Linked DNA regions of Homo sapiens: region 2 is linked to region 1. Evidence: promoter capture Hi-C in human tissues and cell types (Jung and others, 2019). All regions are on one chromosome and are shown on one strand. The core of a region is centred on a gene start or on the middle of the fragment in contact, and the rest is flanking DNA. Distances in the headings are between cores, read along the strand shown.

Evidence for each region. The method cuts DNA at HindIII sites, captures the fragments that hold promoters and counts their contacts. A contact is called where the count stands out against the background at its distance.
Region 2: a fragment that was not itself captured here is called in contact with the fragment with the promoter of TMEM200C in region 1 in 4 of the 25 tissues and cell types used here (IMR-90 fibroblasts, bladder, neural progenitor cells and 1 more).

Annotation. Positions count from the first base shown.
Region 1 is chr18:5,892,464-5,898,361 of GRCh38, forward strand. TMEM200C (transmembrane protein 200C) reads right to left here and starts at 3,059. Exons shown (of 2, transcript NM_001395400.1): 1 at 2,567-3,059. The region is part of intron 9 of MIR3976HG (MIR3976 host gene); the gene reads left to right. It overlaps LOC121725015 (a long non-coding RNA gene), which reads left to right and starts at 3,264. Exons shown (of 3, transcript NR_172505.1): 1 at 3,264-3,623. The HindIII fragment of the contact is 12,914 bases long and covers 1-5,898 here.
Region 2 is chr18:5,937,033-5,942,930 of GRCh38, forward strand. All of the region lies in intron 1 of LOC121725015 (a long non-coding RNA gene), which reads left to right. Among named protein-coding and RNA genes, the nearest start is that of TMEM200C, 44 kb to the left of the region's middle. RefSeq lists an enhancer at 4,813-5,321. The HindIII fragment of the contact is 5,747 bases long and covers 19-5,765 here.

The sequences.
Region 1 (5,898 bases), core at 1,809-4,308:
ATATGAGGGTTTGAAATGAACAATGGAGTTCCAACCATTAGTAAAACCTAAATGTAGGGACTCAAAGTAGTGGTTAAGGACCTCCCTGTCAAGATTCTTTCCCTCAGTCCTTCAGGAATTGGAAGATTTTTCAAGGGAGCTGTCACAGGAGTTTCAAGTCTCTCTAAGCTGGGGAATCTGTCAATGTGTGGCCCAAAGTCACTAAAACAGTCAGGAAAGTTACTACTGTATAAAGACAAAGGAATTTATTTCACTGGATGAAAATCAAAGGTCATATAATGGCAGGCAGGCGGTTTATTTACTTCAGATAATTAATAGAGAGTTCACCACTGGGGAAGCAGCAGAGATATTGCAATACTCTGACAATAAATCCCTTCACAAAGTTGTCTCCCACCTATGCCTGTTCCTACAGCTATGTGCAGGCAGATCCCTTGCACAGCCTTCTTCTCTCCTCTCAGCAACATCTGGACAGCTTCTTGGGGTGGAATATTTAGTTTTAGGTAACTGCTTATGTAACTGAGCTCTTCCTTCTGGCCTTCTTTCCTCCCTCAGAGGAACTCCCTTAAAGGTATCATGTGTCAGATTTCATCAGGGAATTTGAGAAGTCCCCTGGAATCTCCAAGAGAAAGATCTTTTTCTCATATGGGAAAATTACAATTAAAAAAACTAACACTCTGCCATAATAGCTTTCTGACCCCTTATTAAGGTGCCAAGAGCATGCTACAGAGTCCCAGTATTCAAATGAGTAGGCAACTAACTAGGTAAAGCAGTCTACATAATATGATGATTTGTAGAATGACATTTCCCCCAAGCCAAAACTGTTTTGTTTTGTTTTGTTTTTCCCCCTTATCCCTTTCTCATGAGGTCATTTTTAGGAAGGGAGGGTGGCAACAATCAATGGACTACTCTTAGGAAGTTTATTTAGTTGTTTGTAAAAGCCTGGGTAGGAAAATTCACAAATGCATATTTGTAGTTATTCGGCAGCCTCTAAAAATTACAGTCTTGCTGTATCTCCAGAGTAGAACATTTTCTGTCCCATTAGTTGTTTTCCCTCCTATGAGATGCTAAAATCAAGGACATTGTATGAACTGAAAGACTTAGATATCACGCCCAAGCCTTTTGCTCTTCTATCCTTTATCAGATAATTCATGTTTTAGAATAAATTCCCCCTTGAAAATGTGTGGTAGGTAGAATTTTGCTTTTAATTGGTGATTGGGTGAAAGGCTTTGGCCCTTGAGTTCCTCCATTATATCAATATAGGCAGGATCTTTTCTCCATCAGTGGGAATGTAAATGGTAATCAGCTCTTTGCAATATTTGCAAATCAATATCTCTTTGGGACTTAGCTGGGTTTCAGTAAAGAGAAGCACCAGGTAGATAAGAGAGGGGTCAGTATAGAGAATACATCTATAAACCTTTAAGCTGCACCAGTAAGTACAGATTGAAACAAACAAAAAAAAGAGCTTACTGTCTATCTCTAATCCCAAATAAGTAAGCACATTTATTATGTGGTTGTAACATAGAGACTGTTGTTTTAAGTGATCCTTGGAGTCCAGCATCTTAAATAATCTGGAGATCCGTGGTTATCTTAAGAAGGCTTTAAGGACCAGACATTTTTTAGAAGCGAACTCAGACTCAGTTGGCAGGGTGGCTCTCCCACCGCAGAAAGGCTACATGTTTTGTTGGGCATTGATCAGGTGCGCCGGGAGGCTGGATGCCTTGGGGGAGGAGGAAACCCACTTGGATTTCTCCTCAGCAAGGCAGCTTTGGCTCCGGTAGAATGTAAGGAAGGTTGGAATGGATTTCAACAGTCCTTTACCGCACATCTTTAAAATGAGTTTAATAGCTAGTAATTAACTCCCTCGTTTATTATTCCTTCAGCTCTGTTGAAGGCTGTACTCCCTTTTAATGTATCATCATCTGACACGAAATACAGACAAAGGTCAGATGCCACGGGAGACCCACCTTTGAGGTTTTCCTTTATACCTAATGAAAGAAAACAAACTTAGCAGTCAAGCTTGGCTGCCCTCGCAATTTACTGCCTGGAGCTGGTCTTACCGTGGTTAAAGAATGGAGGATGGGGGAAGCAAAGGAGGGATGTCTAAAAATACAACTGCTTCCAAGAGAGACATTCAAGTTCTCCGCTCAAGATGGATTAAGCCCCACTCTGAGGCTCGGAGGCTCGGATCCCACAGGCTGGGAGCGCTGTGCTGTGCCCGGTACCCAACCCAGGTCCTCGACCCCGGCCCCTCACTGGCAGGGCGGCGACCCCCTGGCCCCTGGCTTTGGTCTGCTTATTGATGTTAGCTGGAGTCACATGAGTGCAGCAGCTGGGAGTCCGCCTCTGGAAAGAAGACAGGCAGGAGCCAAGTGAGGGCAATCCTGAACTAGCTTTTTCTGGGCAGCGCATCCCGTGTAGCCAGCCCGGGAAAAAGCCTCTCACCGAACACCAGCCCGGGGCGCGGGGACTCGGGGACCCGAGGGGCGGGGAGGGGCCCCCAAGGGCTGGGGACTGGCAGAATTGCTCAAAATGGCAGCACTCTCCGCACGCAAGATCGCTCACTTACCCAGGGAGACCGAGGGAGGTCGGGGCCGGCGAACGGGCGCTCGGGCGACACAAAGGAACCATGGAGAAACTTTTTCAGCCCGAGCCGACGGCGGAGCGCAGGGACAGCGCCCCGGGGCCCCGCATCCGAGCGCGACTCAGCAGCCCCGCGGGGGCGAGCGCCCGCCCCAGGCTCGCAGTCCCCGCCGGCGCTGTGGCGGGAGCCATTTCCAAGAGTTTCCAAGAAGTGTCAGGTCCTCCGCATCCCGCATCCCGCATCCCGCCTCGGAGCCCTCCTCTCCGCCGCTCATCCTCCAGCTCCCGGCGTCCCCTAGCGCGGCGCTCCCGGGCGGGCCCCTGCGGCCGCGCCGCCGGCCCTCGCGCCTCTTTTGTGTGGCTGCGGCGCGCCGGGCTCCGCCGGGTGGAGTTGAGCCCGCGGCGGCGGCTCGGGGCGGCCGGACTGGCGGCTGTTGCTAAGAGACCGGAGCCATGACACAGGGAAATTGCGGCAGGGTGGCGGTCGGGGCCCGCCCGGCTCGGCGGAGTCGGGGGGCGCCCCCGCCCCCGCCCCCCGCCCCACCCCCTCCTCCGGCGCCCCCCCCCACGCCGCCGGCCTTCCCCGCTCCCCCGCGTCCTCCGCCGCCCGCCGCCCGTCCCTTCGGAAGCGCCGATTCCTCGGGGAGGAGGAGGCGTGAGGGGAGGCGGCGGAGGCAGCCGGCACGGGGCGCTCGGGCCGCGGGGCAGGGGGCGCGGGGTGCCTCCTCGGCCTCGGCTCTCCCCGCCCCGGGGCGCCCCGAGACCGCCGCCTGCCTCCGCGGGCAGCTTTGTTCTTCTTTCCTCCAACTACCTGTCTGAGCCGCGGGCCCCAGAGGCCCCAAAGAGAGGCCCGGAGGGTCTCCCCAGCAGCATCCGAGGGGCGCTCTCGGGGAGCTAGGGGCCAGAGTCCGCGGTCCCTCCGTGCCTGCCTCCCTCCCCTCGTGCCTCGGTCTTTTGTTGCCTCTACTCCTCGGCACGGCGCAGCCTGGGCTCTCTTCCCCCTCCCGCTTGGGAGTTTGCAGTGTGGACGCTCGGCAAGCACAGTAAGTTGTCCCCCAGCGAACTCGGGCCCGGGCGGAGTGGAGCCGCCCCCGCCGGGACGGGCGCACCGCGGGACGCTTGGAAGCCTCTGCCAGATGCGCTCGCGCTCCAGCCCCGCCGGGCTTTGTGACCAGCCTGACCGGGACCCGGCAGCTGGGGCTCCTCGGAGATCAGAATGGGCTCCGGGGCTCTTCCTTGGGCAGCCCCTCCTGCTCCTCCCCGGTGCGGTAATCAGCAAGCATTAAAAGGAAAACTATAATTCTCCAGGAATCAGGAATCAGGGTTGGAATCAGAGAGGGGAGGTGGGGGTAGGGAGGATGTCCAAACTCCCTACGTCATTTAAAAAAGAGAGAAGGCGAGAGAGAGAGAGAAAGAGATCGAGATCCTGTTTCCTAGTTCATCCCTGTCTTCTCAACTGTAAAGTAAAAATGACAGGGAAAAGAGAATTTCAAAGTGGAATTTCCCCAAAGAGTATTGAGAAAGTGAGAAAGATTTCATTTATCTATTGAAATGAGGCAGCCAGGATTCAGGAAGAAAGGAACAGAAGAGCAGATGAAGCAAGTGCTGTCTGAAATTTTGGATCCAGATAAATATTTTGGTGGTGGTGGGTGTTATATATTCTGAGTTTTGCTGCTTAGGGGTCCACAAAACCCACACAGGAGGGCTCTGCTGCCCGCAGCTCCTGTTACAAGATTGTTCCCCACATACACAGCATTCACTTGTGCTTAAATCTAGAGCAGACACTTTTCAAAAAGAACAATAAAGACAACCAATTTACAAGTTCAATGATATAAATGTGAACAGTGATCTAAGAGATGGGGATAGAGACGGTGGGGGACAGGAGGGAACGAAGCAGAAGTGTTTTCTAAAAGGCAACCCTGCATTCACCTGTTGGAAAGGTGGCCTCTGTCACCCTTTTCAAGCAAATAACGAATCTGAATGATGATCAGGGTGTCCGGAACCCACCGCCTTCCCCCTACCTATTCATGCTCAGATTCAGGCTATTAGAAAACAAACCATAATGAAGGGAAAGTTTTAAATCCCACATTGGGTTGTTTCCTTTTAGAGAAATCACTGCAAAGGAAAAATAATAAGATCTAGTTGTCGTTTTCTAAAGCCTTTTTGGCTCTGAACTTCCAGATCTCCTGAATCCCAATAATAATCTGGTATTTTTTACAAAGATTGGGCCTACAGTCTCATTTCATTGCACAGCTAGCTGCCAGAGTCTATGGGCGGCAGTTCCTGTGCTCTGTTTGCTGGGCTGTACAAACAGGAATAATACTGCAGAACTTCATTAGGATTTTAGGTGGATTAAACTGCTAATAGTTTCAAGTTTCTGTGTAAATTATAGCCATCATTTGCACATTTAAAACTCATTTGAGGGATTTGGAGAAGAAAAGAATTCTTTTCTAGACAAAGGGCCTTGGGACATAGCTAGTTTTGTCTTATGTTGATGATTGCAACAAAATTTATGGCTTATTACTCAAAGGCTTCCTTCCAAACTGCGCTTTTTGGAACTTTGAACTGTTTAACCTGAATGTTATCACGTTCAGTAGTTTTCTTTGTTTTCAGCTCATGGTATCAGAGGAAATCAAGCAGATCACATCTGTTTCCAGCGGAGTCCGTTATCCCCTCTGTAATACAGAATCAACATACATTCCCAGGGGCTTTCAAGTTATTAGAGTTATTTTTAAAGGAACAAGGATACTCTTGGCCCTTCTGGCGTTATTTTCCTTCTAATCTCCCTGGCCATTTCAGTTTGGATGATTTCCGAGACTGTGGGACCCCACTTTCACCGTGCTAAGGACTGAAAGGCTACAACTACCTAGTCTTAATAATTCACTAGTGTCTCCAGATTTTGGAGCTCAGCACAGCCTTCTGACCTTGTAGCAGGGAACATAATGAAGGCCCTGGGAAAGTAAGAGAAGAGGATGAAGATTAGCTTAGTTTAGTTGGATTAAATTCTGACCTGCAACCTTTCATTTGCTCTATCTTAAAAAAAAATCCTTATATAATTTATTCAGTCTCATAATTTATTCACAACTCATTTACTTCCTGGATCATTTCACCAACCTAGCCTGGTGTGCTTGACTCGCCTGCCTGTGCTCCCAGGGCTGCGTAGGGGAAGACAGCGTCATGGGCACACACAGGACCTTCTTGGTCTCCAGGAGTGTGCCAGAGAAGGGAAGTCTGCTTATACCAACAGCTCAGCACCTCCTGCCTCTGCACACACCTTTCTCTCACAGATAGTGCAGGCTGCAGAAATAAGTAGTTTAG
Region 2 (5,898 bases), core at 1,642-4,141, 44 kb after region 1:
AGAGTATGCAGGAGCCGAGGGGAGCAGGAGGAGACAGGGTGCCCGGGCAGTCTGTCCAAAGGGGATGTACAAGGATTTTTGAGAGAAAGTATAGGGGAATTCAAGTTACTGAAAGGAGCACAATAATACTGAATAGTAAGGTGTTAGAGAGAGGAGTTTGCAGAGACAAACTAGGCCATATTATTAGTATCATCTAAGGCAGGGGTCCCCAACCCCCGAGACACAGATCAGTACCAGTTTGTGGCCTATTAGGAACAGGGCCCACAGCAGGAGGTGAGCAGCAGATGAGCGAGCATTGCCGCCTGACCTCTGCCTCCTGTCAGATCAGCAGTGGCATTAGACTCTCACAGATGCGCAAACACTATTGTGAACTGTGCACACAGGGGATCTAGGGCGCATGCTCCTTATGAGAATGTAATGCCTGATGATCTGAGGTGGAATAGTTTCATCCCGAAACTATCTCCCCGCAACCCCTGGTCTGTAGCAAAATTGTCTTCCATGAAACTGGTCCCTTGTGCCAAAATGGTTGGTGACCACTGATCTAAGGCATTTGAGAAACTGGGGGGCAATAAGGAGCCATTGAAATGTTCTCAGTAGGAGTGGGAAGTGATTAACCCTGGGTATTAGATAAAGGTCACTTTGGTGCATATCCAAGAAGGGAGAAGGCTGGAGGCAGGGAGGCTATGTGGGAGGTGGTGAAAGTAATCTAGGTGAGAAACACTGTCATTTCCATAGGAAAATGGCAGCCAGAGTGGAGAGGGGCTGTTCCCAGGCTATTTAGGAAGCAAAATCGATAGGATTCAGTCACATCTGATTTGGGGGAAGTGACTAAGTGAGTTGGAGGGCTCTTGAGCTTGTCCTATGTGTATGACTGGGTGGGTGGTGGCCCCAGGCAGGCAGAGAGGGCACACAGGCACAGGAGATGGCTGGAGGTGTGCAGAGAGCAGGTGCTTGGTGAGTTGAGTTTGTTTCACTTTGAATCTACCACATTTGAAGGGGAAATTCAAGGGGAGGCAGTGAGCTCTTATAGCTACAGGTCTGGAGCTAGGGGGCAGGGGGAACTACAGGATGAAGACAATATGTTGGGAGTCATTGATCTGAACTGAGATGGAGCGAGGAGCAGGCCAGCAACTGTGACCCGGCACCTAACCTAGAAAGGGGGCTAAAAAGCACCAATAAGAGACAATTATGTTCTCAAGACCTTCCCTCAGGGAGAAATGTTCTGGTCTGTCATTTGGGGTGAGGCGGTGAGACCATCAAGGACAGAGAATCAAAAGTCTTCCTCTGGGGAGGGTGTCTGATCAGCTCTAGGGGCATTGGCTTTTCTGGGAAGCTTTGCAAGCTTTGGTCTTGAATACAGGTTGAGCAATTAGTTACAGATTATTTTGTTGGAAGGGTCGCCAAAGGGACAGCCCTCCTGCAGCACCTGCCTCAGATACATCCCACCATACAGGCCACTGAGATGGCCCTATGAGTTGACACAGAGCCAGGGAGGCCAGCAGACACGGACAAAGGCCGGGAAGCTTACAAAGGAGCAGTCAGCCCAGGAGGAGGGCTGCAGTGAGGCCACAGAAGTCCATGGTGTGAAGGTATAAAAGTACAGAGTTGGATATCAGTGACACTGTGGTTGACAAATCACTTCAAATGATAGTGGAAAAGTCTCCATTGGATTTAAGAAGGTGCTCAGTGGTCATTTTTGGTAGCACAGATGCTAGGAAAGGTGGAGGAAGGCGCCATCATGCTAGGTGTTGACTTGTGTTATTGGGGTCAGGAAAGAAAGACAAAGAGTTCAACAAGTCTTTCAAGAAGTGTGTCCTTCTAAGGGCCAGAGGATGGAGTGTGAGTGTGTCTGCCTCCCTGTCCACTGGCCTCATAGCCTTTGCATCATTTGACAAATGTTTCAGCATCAAAATACGGTGTTTTAGCCAAGCACGGTGGCTCACTCCTGGAATCCCAGCACTTTGGGAGGCCGAGGCGGGCTGATTGCCTGAGGTCAGGAGTTCGAGACCAGCCTGGCTAACATGGTGAAACCATGTATTTTGTATTTTGTATTTACTAAAATACAAAAATTAGCCCGGCATGGTGGTGCATGCCTGTAGTCCCAGCTACTCAGGAAACTGAGACAGAAGAATCACTTGAACCTGGGAGACAGAGGTTGCAGTGAGCCGAGGTCGCGCCACTGCACTCTAGCCTTGGTAACAGAGCAAGACTCTGTCTCAAAAAAAAAAAAATATATATATATATATATAATACATATATATTTATATATATTTATACATATATATGGTGTTTTATTATTTGAACCTTTGACATTTATTTGATTACTAGTAATAGTAAATATTTCCTCTTATGGCTATGTGTAATTTTGCTTACGTTATTTATGTCCATTGCCTGATAGTCTGTTAGATTAACCATGATGTTATTAATTTTGAAGACATATTTCTATATCATAACCTCTTTGCAGTTATATTTAAGGCAAACACATTTTCACAGTATTAATTTTATTACTGCTTGTAACATATAGAATTATTTCCTAACTTTATGTTATAAAATCTCTCATTGGATTATAGAGTCTTAATAGAAAAGTGAGCAGCAACAGTTTGAGCCCCTTGGGGAAGAGGAGACTCCCTGGGGGGACAGCACGGCCTCTGCTTGCATCCTAGGTTTTACTGAAGCACTGTTTGCAGAAAGCCTAGCGGGCTCAGAAAACCAGCCATGCCATGGTGGGAAGAAAGCCTTGCTGAGATCCTGTGGCTGAAAACCATCATGGGCTTTTGCTTTCAGACTGCCCATTGCCAACCGATGCAGGCCCAGAGAAGCAAGGAGGAGTGCTGTTCTGGGAAGGCGGTGGGCACATAGATGGAGCTAGACTTGCGACTTCAGGCCCTCAGCAGCCACATGATCTTGCAGCTGTGGGCCATGCACCTGCTTCTTGGGCCCATGATTAACCAGATGTTCAGCTCCTTAAAGACAGACTTCGGGGCCCTTGGCTGGCAGGGGATGCAATCTGCAGATGAGAAGCTCTGAGAAGCAGTTCTCAAAGCCAGGATCCAGAGGCTCAGCCATGTGAGTTTCCTGTGAGAGGGAAAAGGCAGGAGCATAGAGGCCACTGAAGTTGTTCTCAAAAGCCCCAAGATACCTTTGGTCTCAGTGGAGGCATCCAGGACACAGCTGTCTTCACTTCTTCACTCAGTCATTTAGAAATTGTTCAGTGAGCACCCACCCTGTATAATTCACTGCTGCTGCAGCTGAGCTCAACATGGTGTCATCTAGGGGAGGAGCTTGAAGAGGTTGTGTTAAGGAAGAACCACGAGAGGAGTGCCCAGTTGGATGTGACCCCGGATGTGTAGGCATCCAGGAGGCTGAAAGAAGGCTGACCCAGGGCCTGATCACTTGACAATGGACATGCTACCTCACAGAGCATAACACCACAACTAACACATCCTGAGCCCTCAATCAATGTTGTGCAATAAAGGAATAAACCTGGATGTCTTTCCTGTAACCAAACATTGGACTATTCATCAACTGTGCACTTTTTGTTCCCCAACGAGCACAAGGGTTTGGACTGCACCATCCCCACTCTTTCTTGACTCTCTCTGTACACCATAAATGCATGGTTCAGGGTGATTTTGCTGGGCAAGGGTGATGGTTTGACTATTTGTGTCCCTCCAAAATTCATGTTGACACTTAATGCCCATTGTGGTGGTATTAAGAGGTAGAGACTTTCGGGAAGTGAGTAAGTCACGAGGCCTCTTTATAAAAGAAGCTTCAGGCCAGGTGCAGTGGCTTATGCATGTAATCCCAGTACTTTGACAGGCTGAGATGAGAGGATCATTGAGCCTAGGATTTCAAAACTAGCCTGGGCAACATAATGAGACCCTATCTCTATTAAAAGTAAAACATTAGCTGGGCATGGTGCGGTGCACCTGTAGTCTCAGCTACTTTGGAAGCTGAGGCAGGAGGATCACTTGAGCCCAGGAGGTTGAGGCTGCAGTGAGCTATGATTGCACCACCGCACTTCGGCCTAGGCAACAGCGTGAGACCTTGTCACACACACACACACACACACACACACACACAATAGTTTCAGACAATAGCCTGGCCTGGCCTTCCCATCTCTTCTGCTGTGAAAACACAACATGCATCCCTTTTTGCCTCTTCAGCACATGAGGATATAGCAAAAAGGCCCAGGCCCTCAACAGGCACTGAATCTGCTGGTACCTTGATCTTGGACTTCAGAGCCTCCAGAACCATAAGAAATAAATTTCTATTCTTTATAAATTACTGAATCTGTGGCATTTTGTTACAGCAGCACAAACAGACTAGGACAGGGAGGTTGGGAGTGCACCGTGTGATGTGTCTTTGCAAAGTCTACCCTGTACCAAGCTGACTGGCCCTATGGGATTTGTTAGCAACTAGCTGGGCCAGATCATTAGAAAACAATTTGAAATGCAGAATGAGGAATGGTGGCAAATTTGGCTATTTTTCTCAGGGTTTTGTTCAGCACCATTTGCTGCCATGCTACCAGCATAGTGGTTTGTGTGGCCTGTACATCCAGAATACCTGGGTTCAAATCCTGCTCCCTGCCTGTGTGATCTTGAGCAGGTGATATGAGCTGCCTGTGCCAAGTTCCGCATCTGTAAAGTGAGGGTGGTAAAAGGACCTACCTCGTAGAGTTGCTATGAGAATGAAGTAAGTTGGCGGGTGAAAAGGTGGTGAATATTCGTATTATTGATGTTATTATCACTGTAAGCAGCAGTGGCAGCAGCTGCCAAGCCTCACATTCCAACCTGAGAATTTCCAAGAGAAGGCAGATGATCTTGTAAAACTCCAGGAAGTCACATCTCTGATTTCCAGCCCTCCTGTCTACAGAGCCAAACCTTTCCGCAGAACTCTCCCTGCTACCATAAAATGCTGCCTCCACAGAGGGAACCCTCCCCAGGCACAAGGCAGATGGTTGCTCCGTTCCATGTGGCCCCTCACTGCAGTGCAGTGATGATGTTTGGGCTGAGCAAAAGACTTCAGTGCTCAGAGGAGAAGGAGCAGGAGGCTTTGCCAGCTTCCATTTGCATGAGAAAAGAACTGAGAGGAGAGGGGAGAAGGGGGAAGATGCTTGCTTCCTCCTTCCATCTTGGCATTCACAGAGCAGGCTGCATTTGAACACTGCCGTGCTATGTACATTGGATCCATGCAATGTTACATAAGTATTTCATAAGGGACAAGGTGACTTTGTGTTTTTTTCACCTGTTCTTCTCCTCTGATCCCAGAAGCTGGGAAGTAGGCTGGATGCAGAGAAAAGAGCATTGTTCTCAAGTCTGCTTCACTGCTTAAAGACTAAGAAGGAAAAAAAATAGAAAGGAAAACAAGAATCATTGTCTCTTTTGTTTTCTCTTTAAAATATAAAAGGAACTCTGAAACCAAAGTTCGGATGACATCGTATGACATTTTCCTTTCCACATGGAAAAATTTTGAATAAAAGATCTGTTTTCTGGGTTGACACTTCTGGGCTCTTTCAATCTCCAGTAGCAGCAAACTGCTGTCATTTCTGGAAATAAGGATGGCAAGACTCAGGGGGTTAATCTGCCTGATTTTGCTCTCCAAGGGTGACAGCGTAAAGCTCTTTGGCTCTGCATCCACAGTAATAGCTGAGGGCAGCGCTGCCCAACAGAACTTTCTGTGGTGATGGAAGCCTTCTCTAATCTGTGCTGCACATCTGGCAGCCACGAGCCACACGTGGCTATTGAGCGCTGGAAGTGGGGCTGCTGTGACTGTGGAACTGAGTTAACTTCACTGTTAATTTAAATTTAAATGGCCACGTGTGGTCTGTGGCTACAGTATTGGCAGGTGCATGAGAGCAATAGCAAAACAAACTGTAAGTAGCATCCACAGATGTTGACT